3 separate regions of the Homo sapiens genome follow, and regions 1 and 2 are each linked to region 3. The links are contacts of gene promoters, found by promoter capture Hi-C in blood cells and fetal thymus (Javierre and others, 2016). All regions are on one chromosome and are shown on one strand. The core of a region is centred on a gene start or on the middle of the fragment in contact, and the rest is flanking DNA. Distances in the headings are between cores, read along the strand shown.

What was found. The method cuts DNA at HindIII sites, captures the fragments that hold promoters and counts their contacts. A CHiCAGO score of 5 or more calls a contact.
Region 1: a contact is called between a fragment that was not itself captured here and the fragment with the promoter of NDP in region 3, in 5 of 17 cell types (M1 macrophages, monocytes, M2 macrophages and 2 more). The highest score is 7.8, in M1 macrophages.
Region 2: a contact is called between a fragment that was not itself captured here and the fragment with the promoter of NDP in region 3, in 1 of 17 cell types (M2 macrophages). The highest score is 7.3, in M2 macrophages.

The regions. Positions count from the first base shown.
Region 1 is chrX:44,224,269-44,229,228 of GRCh38, forward strand. All of the region lies in intron 11 of EFHC2 (EF-hand domain containing 2), which reads right to left. Among named protein-coding and RNA genes, the nearest start is that of EFHC2, 120 kb to the right of the region's middle. RefSeq lists a silencer at 4,411-4,460. The HindIII fragment of the contact is 4,065 bases long and covers 1,623-4,960 here.
Region 2 is chrX:44,204,374-44,209,436 of GRCh38, forward strand. The region is part of intron 11 of EFHC2 (EF-hand domain containing 2); the gene reads right to left. Among named protein-coding and RNA genes, the nearest start is that of EFHC2, 140 kb to the right of the region's middle. The HindIII fragment of the contact is 4,172 bases long and covers 736-4,907 here.
Region 3 is chrX:43,970,548-43,975,245 of GRCh38, forward strand. It overlaps NDP (norrin cystine knot growth factor NDP), which reads right to left and starts at 2,843. Exons shown (of 3, transcript NM_000266.4): 1 at 2,757-2,843. NDP-AS1 (NDP antisense RNA 1) reads left to right here. Exons shown (of 6, transcript NR_046631.1): 6 at 898-1,005. The HindIII fragment of the contact is 1,267 bases long and covers 2,541-3,807 here.

The DNA.
Region 1 (4,960 bases), core at 2,405-4,904, 250 kb after region 3:
GGATAAAGCATTTTCACTTTCTGAGTATCCACCATGCACTAGTCAGCTACAATAAGAATTTTAATATCAGTATCAAATGTATTCATCACAACAGCTGTGTCCTATGTATTACTATCCCCATTTTACAGATGAAAAAATTATTCAGCAGCTTCCCCAAGGCCACTAAGCTGGTAAACAAGAGAGCCAAGAGCTAGATCTGGGTTTGCCAACTCCAAAACCAGTGATAAGAACTATTTCTATTATATTACCTCTTTTAGGAAGAATTTTAGTTTTACAAGGGAGAAAATCTCCTTGAGGTTCTAAATCTTAGAAGGAATTTATTACATGGATGTTCACAGGAGAGCTACTGACTCTGCAACTGATAACGGGGACCTGAAGAAAAAATCTGTAATAATTCACTATGTTCATTGAGGTCTGATACACTGGGTTCTGGAGGCATCTGGGAAAGACACAAGAGTGAACCAGGCATGGGCCCTGCCCTCTGAGAGCTTCCCCAGGTGGAGAGAAGAGACAAGCACTCAGCTAACCAAAATACACACAGGCTACATGGGGCCAGGTGTCATCTCTGATGGGTAGATCAAGGCTCAGGGAGGTGGCCAGAGAGATGGACTGACCACATCTTCCTTGGCATTGGGCTCTCAGTGCTGCTGCTGCTGCTGCTGCTGCCTGTGGTTCAGAGTCCAGGGCCCTCACTGGGAAGCCCCACCCTGCCTATGTTCCCAACTGCATGAAATACTAGCCCTGCCAAGCTTAGTCCCTGCCCTGCTCCCTGCTGAAATCTGCCCACCACTGCCACCAGGTATCTATCCTAAGGCTCTAAGAAAGGTTATCTGCACTCTCTTGGATAACGATCAGCAGCTCTCACAGGCGAATCTGATAGACCATGCCAAAAAGATTCTAAAGAGGATCAATGAAACAGAAGCAGAAGTGGTGAATTCCCACAAGGCAAAAGAGAAATGTTCCCTACCCAAATAAAAAAATTAAAAAAAAAAAAAACAAAAACCATTCCCTACTTCTGTTTCCTGATGGCTGCCTGTCCCTGCATTCCATCAGGTCTATTCTGAGGCAAATATCTCCGAGAGGCCCACACATTAATCCATTATTGACCATGGCACCTTATACAGAGGTAGTTTATCAGCTCCTACCCTCAAAGTTTTTCTGAGAGGAGATGCACATCTCTGAGAAAAAGGGCAATGCTGGGGGCTTGGACCACTGCCCAGAGCAGCAGGTCTGGGCCCCGAAGCCCCAGGTGTATGCTGAGAGTGCCAGGTATCTAAGCAGAAGAGAGTCAGGGCCACAGAGGCCAAGCCCATAGGCCTATGCTGCAGTCCTGCCTTTGCTTGCCTCTGCTCTTCTCTACTATCTCAATGTACAAATTTGAAAAGAGAACATTTTACAAGAATATTATAAACTTACATTTTCAGAGTTTCCAGTTGTCAGAGCCTAGAAGGGACCTCAGAGACCAATATATGAACAAATGAGTGAGATACAGGTAGGTGAAGTGAGTTGCCCAAGTTACTTGGCTAGTGAGGATCAGGCCTAGCTTCTCCTTACTTCCCTAAGTAAGAGCCAGATGGCCCTTCCCTGGTGCAAGGAAATCAATTATTTACTTGATTGCTGCAAGCTTTAGACTGAACGTTCCTTGAGAAATAGGATCGTTCATTAAATTATTCAGCAAACATCTATTGCACTTGGCAGGAGCTGATGTGGAGGCAGGGAAGCAAACAAGTAACAACTTGACAGGAGGCTACCAGTGAAGAGTAGGTATAAAGCATTTAGCACGATGCTTAGCCCCCAGTAAGTGCTCAATACATGGTGGCTTCTACAAAAGTATTCTTCTAGTGAGATGGAAATACGGAGCTAAAGGTAGGCAAACTCATGTGACACACTGATGCAGGGTTAAGAGCAGAAGAATGATCCGATCAGAGTTTAGGAAGGTCACTCTGGCAAAACTTTGCAGGATGAGAGTTAAGAAAAAGAGATCAGTTACACTGCTCTCCAGAGGGTCCAAGTAAACAGTGATGAAAAGCTGAACTACAACCGTGAAGCTGCAGATGTAAAGAAGGGAAAGTTCCCAGAGGTAGTTCAAGACGTATAATTCCAAAGGGTGAGTGGGAGAGGTCGAGAGAGGGGAGAGGGGAGACACAAAGCCAACACCTGGTCTGGACTCTTGGGGATGCCCATGATGGCCTTTATCAGGATACAGTCTCCTAGCTGCTACTTTATGAAAGAAGAAAATGAGGTCAAGTTAGGGAAAGTTATTTCTGGGATGCCTAAGAGACATGCGAGGGGGAAACGTCCCAGAGGTATTCGTGTTTCCAGGTTTATAGCTCAGGAGAAAGGTCTGAGCTTGAAGAACTAGCATGGACACAATCAGCCTACAGGTCAAAGCCAAAGCAGTGAGGGCTAGATAAAATGTACACATTCAGAACACATGTACACAGGGAGGGGAACATCATACACCGGGGCCTGTCGGGGGGTCGGGACCTAGGGGAGGGATAGCATCAGGAGAAATACGTAATGTAGATGATGGGTTGATGGGTGCAGCAAACCACCATGGCACGTGTATACCTAGGTAACAAACCTGCACGTTCTGCACATGTACCCCAGAATTTAAAGTATAATAAAAAAAAGAAAAAGAAAAAGAAGAAGGAAGGAAGGAAGGAAGGAGAAGAGAAAAGAGAGAAGGTAGAACACAAAAGACACAAAAGCAGAGAATTATCTCAGAGAATTATTTCATCTGAGGCATATTAAACACTAAACAAAAAAAAAATGTACCCATTCAACTAGTATTTATTAACACCCTATTGTTTGCCAGACACTGAAATAAGTCATAAGGCTAAAGCAGAAAACAAGAAAGAGAAGGTCCCTGCCCTCAAAGAGGTTATATTCTGATGAGGAGAGTCAGAATACACACACACACACAAACACACACACACATACGCATACATAATGAAAGGAAAATATTAGCTAGTAAAAGCACTGAGCAAAGAATTGAATTAGGGTATGATGTGATAGACACGGGCTATGTAGTTCCTTTTTCTTTGCTCAAAGAGTTTGAAAAGCATAAGATGGGGCTGAAGACAAGGTGCAGGGACCATTTGTGGGCTGAGCACAAATGAGCAGCCCCAAGCACAGAGGGCTCAGCATCCGGCACCAAGCATGTCATATGGATTGAGACATCTAGACTCTTGGTCTACGCTCTCATTTGAAGGCCATGCCATCACCTCCAAACTAGAACCCCCAGGAACAACTCTAGTGGTTCATTATTTCATTTAGTAACTATATGTATTGAGCCCAGCAGTAGGGGATGCTGCAGGGAACAACACCATTGAGTTCCCCACCCTCAGAAAGCTCACATTCGAATAGGAGAAGACACACACAGCACATACACATAGATACCCCACCCCCAAGTAAACAGATCTCTAAATAAAATAACTGCAAGTTGTGCTAAGTGCTGTGAAAAATATAAACAAGTGGCTAAGAATAACAGCAGGTGATCTACTCTAGATAGGATCTAGAAAGCCCCTCTGAATGAAAGCCCCTCTGGGAGTTGGCATTTGAGATGAGTCCTAGAGTGTGCCATGCAGAGGATGGTGGTGACTGCATTTCAGGCAGAGGGAACTTGGTGTGCATAGGCTCAGAGACAGGAAAGAGCTTGATGTGTTTGAGAAACCGAAAGACAGTCAGTAAGGCCAAAAGACAGGGCTGCAGAAAAAGAGGTGATGACACTGGAAATACAAACAGACTCACATCACTCAAGGCCTTGCTGGCTGCAGTCAAATGTTTGGATCTTATTGTGAGGACAATGGCAAGCCACTGAAGGATTTTTCAAGCCAGGCGAAACCTGATCTGAGTTTCATTTTAAGGAATTTCTGGGACGGGGAGGTCCTTCTTTTAGAGCATGCAGCTCCTTGAGGCCACCCCTCCAATCACAGCGTAGTGGCCCTTTATCCCACCCACAATTAGGGTCAGGCCTCCATCTGCAAAGCAACTTTTCCTCCTTGGATCGCCTGCCTGGCCTAAGTGCTTCCCAAAAAGCCCTATAAACTCACTAAAGTGTTTCCAATAGACTTTGCGAGTGCTGGAAAAATGGATGCTTTTGTAAAAGGACACAAATAATAAAACGAAACCACTCCCTCATTTCTGATGGAAATTTCTTGCTTTCACCTCCACTGCCTTCCATTAGCCCATGGCCTGTGTAATTGTCTCTGCTCTTTACTGTCTCCATTTATTTTCCAAAACACTATGAACATGTGTATGTGACTATGAACAATAACAAAGAACTATAAATTCTTATTGATCCCAGAAGGTTGGGAATTCTAAACAATAAAAATATGTCCTCTGACTGCTTCTCTCCAAAGAACATTTTGGAGACACAAAAGAGCTTTGTTAAAACAACAAATGAGCTCTTGGGACACTCTGGGCCTAATGGTGGGCTCCAGGCCACCAGGTAGTGATGCAATAGGCGACTGCAGACACAAAGTTGGAAAGACCTCCCTGCTACCCTCTCCTGGGCTCACTTCCTCATTTCTCAGCCCACATCTTGACTGCATCAAGCGGAGTTTACTATATAGCTTTCAGCCACTATCGTTGTCAGGAGCCAGAATTCTCAGCCTAAAGAGAAAGTCCCCTTTGTCCTCCATCCATGATTTAATTTATTCTCCTAAATGCTCCATTCACTTTGTTTTCAGCCTAAGAAGTCTCACGATTGTACTAGACCCTGAATTTGAATTTCCCTGTGTTTCTGCTGTTTGGAAATTTGCCTCGGTCAGCCACTGGATAGTCCCAGAATTCAGCTTCACCTTAGAGAAAATCTTAATCATGATTTGTTATAATATTTCCAACTACTGTCATATATTTTTCCCTCGATTCCTATATTTTCATGTCTTTCAGAATACACATATGTGTGTAAGCACATGTATACACAGATGCATACATATCACCTTTGCTCTGATAA
Region 2 (5,063 bases), core at 1,572-4,071, 230 kb after region 3:
ACCAGATTGAAATGTCTGAAATGACAGATAAAGAATTCAAAATATGGATTGCAAGGAAACTCAACAATATCCAAGAGAAAGTTGAAATCCAGCACAAATAAAACAGAAAAATGATCCAGGAAATGACAGATGAAATAGATGAAATAGATATATTAAGAAAGAACCAAACAGAACTTTTGGAATTGAAAAGTTCACTACAGGAATTTCAAAATATAGTTTGAAGCCTTGACAATAGACTAGATCAAGTAGAAGAAAGAATTTCAGAGGTCAAAGACTGGTCTTCCAAGTTAACCCAGTCACACAAAATAAGGAAAAATAATTTTAAAAATGAATAAAACCTTTGAGAAATATGGGATTATGTAAAGTGACCCAACCTATGACTTACTGGCATTCGAGAGAGAGAAGGAGAAAAAGCAAGCAATTTGGAAAACATTTGAGGCTATAATTCAGAAAAATGTCCCCAATCTCACTAGAGAGGTCAACATGCAGATACAAGAAATTCAGAGAACTTCTGCAGAATGCTATACAAGACAACCACTCCCATGGCAAATAGTCATCAGACTATCTGAGGTCAAAACATAAGGAAAAATTTTAAAAGCAGCTAGAGAAAAGGGCCAAATTACCTGTAAAGGGAATCCCATCAGACTAACAGTAGACCTCCTAGATTGGAGACCTATTTTTAGCCTTCTTAAAGAAAATAAATCCAAGCCAAGAATTTCATACCCCACCAAACTAAGCTTCATAAACGAAGGTGAGTCTTTACCAGACAAGCAAATGCTAAGGGAATTAATCACCACCAGACCAGTCTACAAGAAATATTTAAAGGAGTTCTAAACATGGAAATGAAAGAACAATACTTGCTACCACAAAAGCACACATAAGTATAAAGCCGAGAGCCTTATGAAGCAACTACACAATTGATACTACAAAGCAACTTGCTAACAACACTACAATAGGAACAAAACCTCACATATCAATACTAACCTTGAATATAAATGGCCTTAACGCTCCATATAGAAGACATAAAATGGCAAATTAGATTAAAAAAAAAAAATACAAGACCCAACCTTCTCCTGTTTTCAAGAGGCCCATTTCACATGTAATGACATTGATAGGCCCAAAGTAAAGGGATGGAGAAAGATCTATCATGCAAATGGAAAACAAAATAGAGCAGAGGTAGCTATTTTTGTATCAGATAAAACCAACAACATTAAAACCAACAACAACTTTAAACCAACGACATTAAAAAAGGACAAAGAAGGGCACTATATAATGATGAGGCGTTCAATTCAACAAGAAGATTTAACTATCCTAAATATATATGCACTCAACATCAGAGCACCCAGATTTATAAAACAATTACTACTAGACCTAAGAAAAGACATAGATGGCCATACAATAATAGTGGAGGACTTCAACATCCCATTGACAGGACTAGACAGATCACTGAGGCAGAAAACTAACAAGGAAACTCTGCACTTAAGTTGGACTTCTGACCAAATGGACCTAATAGACATCTACAGAATACTCCACCCAATAACCACAGAATATACATCCTTCTCATCTGCACATGGAATAGTCTCTAAGATTGACCACGTGCTCAGTCATAAGTCTCAATAAATTCAAAAATATCAAAATTCTACTAAGCATCTTCTTGGACCACAGTGGAATAAAATTAGAAACCAGTACCAAGAGGAACTCACAAAACCACACAAATACATGGAAACTAAACAACTTGCTCCTGAATGACTTTTAGGTAAACAATGAAATTAAAGCAAAAAATTATTTGAAACAAATGAAAACAGAGACACAACATACCAAAACCTGTGGGATACAGTAAAAGCAGTGTTCAGAGGAAAGTTTATAGTGCTAAAGGCTTACATCAGGAAGACAAAAGTTGGCAGCATTTCCCCTAATAACTGCAACAAGACAAGTATGTCCGCTCTCTCCACTTCTATTCAATATAGTATTGGAAGTCCTAGCCAGGGCAATCAAGCAAGAGAAAGAAATAAAAGGCATCCAAATAGGGAAAAAGGCAGTCAAATCATCTCTGTTTGCCAATAATGTGATTCTACACCTAAAAAACTCCAAAGGTTCCTCCAATAGACTCCTAGACATGAAAAATGACTTCAGTAAAGTTTCAGGATACAAAATCACTGCACAAATATTAGTAGCATTTCTATACACCAATAACATTCAAGCTGAGAACCAATGAAGAATGAAATCCCATTTACAATAGACACAAAAAATAAAATACCTAGGAATACACCTAATCAAAGGGTGAGATACCCCTACAAGTAGAACTATGAAACACTGCTGAAAGAAATCATAGATGACACAAGCAAATGGAAAAACATCCCATGCTCATGGATTGTAAGAATCAACATCATTAAAATATCCATACTGCCCAAAGCAATCTACAGATTCAATGCAATTCCTATCAAATTACCAATGTCATTTTTTTCACAGAATTAGAAAAAACACATTTCTAAAATTCATATGGAACCAAAAAAGAGCCTCAAAAGCCAAAGTAAACCTAAGCAAAAATAACAAAGCCAGAGCCATCACATTACCCAACTTCAAACAATACTACAAGGCTATAGTAACCAAAACAGCATGGTACTTGTACAAAAAATAGGCACGTACTAATAGATCAATGGAAAAGAATAGAGAACTCAGAAATAAAGCCACATACCCACAACCAACTGATCTTTGACAAAGCTGACAAAAATAAACAATAGAGAAAGGACACCCTCTTCAATAAATGGTGCTGGGAAAACTGGCTAGACATGAATTGGATCCCTAACTCTCATTATATACAAAAATGAACTAAAAATGGATTAAAGACTTAAATGTGGCTGGGCTCAGTGGCTCACTCCTATAATCCCAACACTCTGGGAGGCAGAGGTGGGCAGATCACCTGAGGCCAGGAGTTCAAAACCAGCCTGGCCAACATGGTGAAACTCCGTCTCCACAAAAATAGAAAAGTTAGCTGGGCATGGTGGCATGTGCCTTTAATCCCAGCTACTCAGGAGGCTGAGGTAGGAGAACTGCTTGAGCCCGAGAGGCGGAGGTTACGGTGAGCTGAGATCATGCCACTGTACTCCAGCCTGGGTGACAGAGTGAGACTCCGTCTCTAAAAAAAAAAAAAAGAAAGGCTTAAATGTAAGACCTAAAACTATGAAAACCTAGGAAAAATTCTTCTGGACATTTGCCTAGGCAAAGAATTTATATTGAAGACCTCAAAAGCAAATGTAACAAAACCAAAAATTGACAAACGGGACTTAATCAAACTAAAGAGCTTCTGCACAGCAAAAGAAACTGTCAATGGAGTAAACAGACAACCCACAGAATGGGAGATAATATTTGCAAACTATGAACCTGACTAAAGGACTAATATACAGAATCTAAACTTAAATCAACAACAACAACAACAACAACAACATTCGAAAGTGGGCAAAGAACATGAACAGACACTTCTCAAAAGCAGACAGACATAAAAGCAGCCAACAAACATGAAAAAATGCTCAGCATCACTAATTGTCACAGGAAGGCAAATTAAAATCAAATAAGATATCATCTCACGCCAGTCAGAATGGCTATTAAAAAGTCAAAAAATAACAGATGCTGGCAAGGATGCAGAGAAAAGGGAATGCTTATACACTGTTGGTGGGAATGTAAATTAGTTCAGCTCCTGTGGAAAGCAGTTTGGAGATTTCTCAAATAACTAAAAATAGAACTGCCATTTAACCCAGCAATCCCATTATTGGGTATCTACCCAAAGGAAAAGAAATCTACATTTTCTTTATCCAGTCCACTGTTGATGGGCACCTAGGTTGATTCTATGAGGTGGTTATTGTGAATACCACTTTTATAAACATATCAGTGCAAGAAAGTGTGGTACATATACACCATGGAATACTCTGCAGCCATAAATAAAAGAGTGAAATCATGTCCTATGCAGCAACATGGATGCAGCTAGAGGCCATTATCTTAAGTGAATTGATGCAGAAACAGAAAATCAAATACCACATATTGTCACTTGTAAGTGGGAGCTAAACAAAACGTACACACATACATAAAGATGGAAATTATAGACACTGAGGACTCCAAAAAGGGGGAGAAAGGGAGGAAGGCGAGGGTTGAAAAGCTACCTATTGAGTACTATGTTCACTATTTGGGTGACAAGGTCAGTAGAAGCCCAGACCCCAGCATTATGCAAAATACACATGTAACAAACCTGCACATGTACCTTCTGAATCTAAAATTTTTGTGAAAAATTTCTGTCCTCAAATTAATGTATAAATTCAACACAATTCCAATCAAAATACAATCACCTTTTCATAGAGCTAGAAAAAGTGGTCATAAAGTTCATATGGAAAATTAAAAGTCTGCAAATAGGACAAATCTGAAGAAAAATTAGAACTTACCCTGCTTATATTTCATCGTGACATATCATGATGCTATAGTAATAAATGAAAACAGATAATACTGATTTAAGAATAGACAAGCAAACAAACTTAATAAAATTGGAGGGCTTAGAAACCAATTCATATGGATATGGGTCCATGACATATGTCAGATGTATCAGTACAAACCACTGGGGAAAGGACAGACAATGCATGATACTGGGTTGATTGGCAATCTGTGTGTGTGTGTGTGTGTGTGTGTGTGTGTGTGTGTGTGTGTGTGTGTGTGTGTGTGTGTGTGTGTTAACCTAGACACAAAAATTAATCTTAGATTAATTTAAGACCCAAATGTGGAAGGCAAATGTTGTAACTTTTAGAAGAAAATGGAGAAGAATATCTTCATATATGTGGGGCATACATAATTTCTTAAACAGAATGCAAAATTCACAAACCCATAAAGGAAAAGATGGACAAATTCAAGTATAATTAAAAATTTAAAGCTTTCATGTGACAAAACACACCATATTGGCACTTTTAGCCAGTGCAATAAAGCAAGCAAAAAGAAATCAAAGGAATCCAGACTGAAAATAAAGAAGTGAAAATGTCTTTATTCACAGACGACAGGACCATCAGCGTAGAAAAACTGATAGAATA
Region 3 (4,698 bases), core at 1,593-4,092:
GATAAAACACCATACTGGGTTATTTGAAAGCAACACTGTGTGGCTATGATGGAGACCTGGGTTTGGGGAAGAGTTTCCAACAGCTTCTTCCCAGGGGCCTCTTGAATTTAGGCCAGGCCCAGAGGTCATTTGTTTTGATACTGGGGGTGGGACAAGTAAGTGGTGAGGGATAGTGACTGCATCTTCCTCCATATGCATGTTTCTAATTCGATGATTCATCAAGTGGCCCTGATGTTAGCTACTGAGTAGGCGACTCACACCCATCCCCAATAGAGACAGCATATGGTCCTTTCCACAGGGTGCTCAGGAGAGCAGAGAAAGGATAAACTACTGTCTTTTTCCGGGATTCTTCTACCCAGGCTGGAAAGATCTAGCCGTGTTAGCTGTGCAAATGACGTGTACCCAGGATCTGGTGAAAAAGGCCAAAGGGGAATCCCTTAATCATAAATGGAAAGAAAACCCACTGATGAGTGAGAATCATTTCAAGTAAATCTAGAAACCAGTAGCTGTTTTAAATAATTCTTTATAACAGGAAAGTTATTGCCCACTTTACCCATTGGCAATGCCCATTTCAGTTCCAAAATCTAACTAGAGATGGCATATGGACTGAGAATTAGAGTATGGGACAATGTCTCATTCACCTTTGCATCCATCGGGACTAGCATAGCACTGGGCATCTAGAAAATGCTTAATAAATATTTATTTAAAAATTGATGAAATAAATAATTAACCAGAGAATAATAGTACTTGAATTGTGAGTTCTTAAAATAAAGATTGCTGGCCACCATTGGTGGCTATAATTCCAAGAAACTCACCACATTTTTCAAGGGCCCAGGAAAATAAATGAGTTGGAAATTGTTAAATGTATTGAAAAATGATTTATTTTTCCCTTGACAGTGTCATTGGAACTCGAATTAAGATTGAAAACTCCACAGGCACATTTCCATCTGTGGGTGTCAGCTGCTTGGTACACAGTCGTAAGAAGGCCTCAGCCAGTTCTCCCGTTACCTGAACCAAATGTATTTTAAAATAAATGATGCAAAACATTGCATTTTGTGTTCAAATACTCTCATGTAATGATCTGAATAATAGTCTAAGAAAATTGTTTTGATTCAGCTAAATGCTTTGCTAACCGCAGTTTTTTTAAAAAAAAATTACAATAAAATTTTACAGCAATGGAATCCATAGTGTCTTTTATGGCTTTCTTGACTAATGAATACCCCAAAGTTGTAAATTAACCTATTCAAATATCAGATTTTCATTCAGCGATGCTTATTGGGCTGGTTATCAGAGAAAATCAGAAAAGTTTTGCATAAACTGTGTACCAATTTGCAATGAAAACTGGCAAACAGGACCATAAAGTTTCCTTGAATTAGTAAGACTGATGAGAAGAAAATGAGCAGATATTTGCATCTGGTTTAAACGCTCAGTTGAGAAGCATTGTGCCGTCCCCGCTGTATTTGGTTGACACCCACAGCAACTCCCCATTTCAGTCATCTCTCTGTTTTCAAATGCACCTGGTATTTAATCTTATGTGTTGGGGTAATTTGCCAATGCCAGCTCCTTGTAATTAAAATACACTAATATTAGAAATGAAAAGAGACATGTTTCACAGCAGCCATATCTGTTATTAATGAGTTACAAAGAACTGTACAAGGGACTCCCATCTTGCCAAATAGCTTCCTTTCCCGCACCTGAATCTCAGTAAAGATGGGAGTCTGCCTCTCATGGAGGCTTATCTGGGTTTGTCTATTACAATGAGCCTCAGTTACTGGGCGTTCTGAGTCATTAACATTCTGTACACAATCAAACTTCCCGTCCCCCAAGAAAGAGTTATGCCCAGGCCTCCTACAGCTCAATTGTTCATTTAAAGAGAGAACTTGTATTCCAAAGTTTGAAAGAAACCTCGGAATATCCCGCAGGTAGGAGTCATTCCTACAGGTCCTGGTCTCTGTGCTGGTGGGAGCATCCTTTCCCGGTCACTCCTTGAACATCATGCTGCAGGGACGAGCTGATGACTAAAAATAACCCCCTGCAATAAGTCCAAGGCAAACAGCATGCATTTCCTCGGACTTTTTGCCCAATCAAAATCATACAGTAAATCCATCCTCATCTCCTCCCGGTGCTCCCCAATGCATCTATGGAAGCGAAGACCTGCACGCTGAAAGAAGAGTGCAAGGGAGCAGGATTCCTGCAAAGCGTGACACAGAAAGCTAGAAATAAATGTTGCCTATTGTTTGAAGTCATTCTGAGCACTCCGGCAGAGCCCTGGCAGGAGATCAGCAGCATACATAAGTAGTAATAAAAGTAAACAGTGCGCTTTTAAACTCGCAGTCTTGCCTGCGTTAATAGTGCCCCCATTGTAAGTGGGATGAGGGTGCTGGGGAAGATACTGGGCTCCATGAATCCATGTTGGCAAGTTGCTGCTTCGCAGCCCCCTTTCACGGGGTCAACTATAAGAACCATCACAAAGTTACATCTAACTACGCAGAGAGTTTGAAAAGAAAAATCTCTTTAAGTCAAACCAAAAGATATTTTCAAGCTTTTCTAGGAGGCTCCCTGCTCTGTCACAGACTTCAAAGACCCGTTCATTTAAGAAACACAATGCTAGCATGCTACAGATTAATGCAAATTAAAGTAATGCAAATTTAAGTGGTATTTAAAGGTTGTCTCTTTGTCTGAGAGGAGGATGAAATGCTCGGTTTGGAAAGAAGCGATTTCCTAGGCAAGCCGGCAGCGCTTGTTTTCCTGCTTACCTTAGGGGAACGCAGGGCTCCTTTCTTCTCAGACTTTTCTGAGAGCTAGAAAGAGGTCCTGTTACTTCCAAATGCTTTTGTTCTTCTGTCCCTCTGTCACATGGCTTGCCTTTTATATTTGCAACACACAAAAGTTAGGACTGTTGTTTAAGCGACACAGGGAGAGAGAGAGAGGGAGAGAGAGAGGGAGAGAGAGAGAGGGAGAGAGAGAGAGAGAATGTCAAATGGAAAAGTGCCATTGCAGTCATATATCAATCAGGCGTGCGGCCGCAGCAGCGCACTAGCAAATGGGAATGCCACGGAAATGTGAGGCGCTCGTTATCGGGGACTCAGCCTCTGCCCACCGCTCGGCTCCCTTCCACGGAGCATCTTACGATGGGAACAGCGTAGCAGAACAAGGGCGAGGAAGTTTCTTTCTTTCTTTCTTTTTTAATGGTATTATGGAACTAATAAGAGGCCAAATGAATATTCTGAATTTAATTCTTTTTCAAGCATGTGGCTGCCATAAAGATGTGCCGTCCGCAATAGAGACGTATAGTTTTGGAAATACAAAGGCAGTGTGGCATTCTGTTGAACGATTCGGCAGCTGACTGTGATGAAGTTGAAATTTTAAGTAAGAGAGGGGAAAGATGGGAACCAGAAATTTTTTTCTCAGGCGATGCTGTTAAAGCAAGTGCAAAACGCTGCCCTATTTTATCACGATGTGTGTGGGTGGTGAGAGTTCTTTTTTTCCGGGTTGTTCATCCATTAAATGATTTTTAGCAGCATATACATGATTAAATTCACAATGGCACTTTAATAAGCCCCTTCATCTGCATCATTTAGAATAAAACTTTAGGTCTGATTTAGAAACAATGAGAACGTGTATTCCTTGACTCCTTGAGCTATATGAAGGAGAAACTAATAGATAAAGCTAACCCATTACACAACAACTAGTAGAAAAGTGACAAAGGTAACTATGTGTGTGGGTTAAATACCTGCAGCTGAATCATGCTGTGTTATGAGCTGTGGGACTACAAAGGCAAATATTTCATAATTCTTGCCCTTTGAAAGCTTAAAATTAACACAGAAAACCGTCAGGGATTTTGGAGGAAAATACAAAGAACATTTAATAATTATTTTATGTCAGGTAAATCAGACCCAGAATAATTTGTTTTATTAATACTACTGATGAAGAATTAAACTGAGAATTTAAAATATATATATTTCGTGGAAAAAATAATACATTATAAAACTCAAAAAGAAATTTTTCTTGGGAGCTTCATGTAATTGTTGATGCTGAAACTGTCTTGTTCAACTCTGTATCAAACTATTTGTTATTCATTAATAAATTTACATTCACCTTATTACTTTTCCATGGGACCTTTACTCCAGTCACTGATATTTGCAAGAGGTGTCTTAAAACTTTCAGTTTTATTGCCAGAAATCCCTTTTCTTATGCTCCACTTGGAAAAAAAAATACCCTGTCTACCTTGGACCAGCCAGTCACAAACAGAATCCACCTGCGAAGATCATGGATAAATGACAAATTCAAAGCCTTGAAAAAAAACCTGGCACTTGGCTGATGATGATATTGGCTAAATATCTTAAAAGCAGAAGATCAAAAAGCAAATGGAAATTGGGCCTTAAAACTGGAAATAATCTGAAAGGGGAAATGACTTGTAGCTGAGTAAGAGCCATGGAAACAGTCAGGAATACATTTTCTGGCCTAATTTTGTGGGTCAGATTGGGAGGGGGAATAAACTCTTTGGCCACCAACATTTTCAAATATCAGAACTTGACATCCGTCCACCTTCTCATTTCTCCCAAGAAATAATCTGTGGCTTTCTCAACATATGCTCGCCACTCCACCCTGCCATCTTTCGCCTTCAGGTTGTCAGGGTTGCATGAATTCTGCCCAGTTCCTGGGCAGAATTTTCCAGCATTCTACAATCTGCCCTTC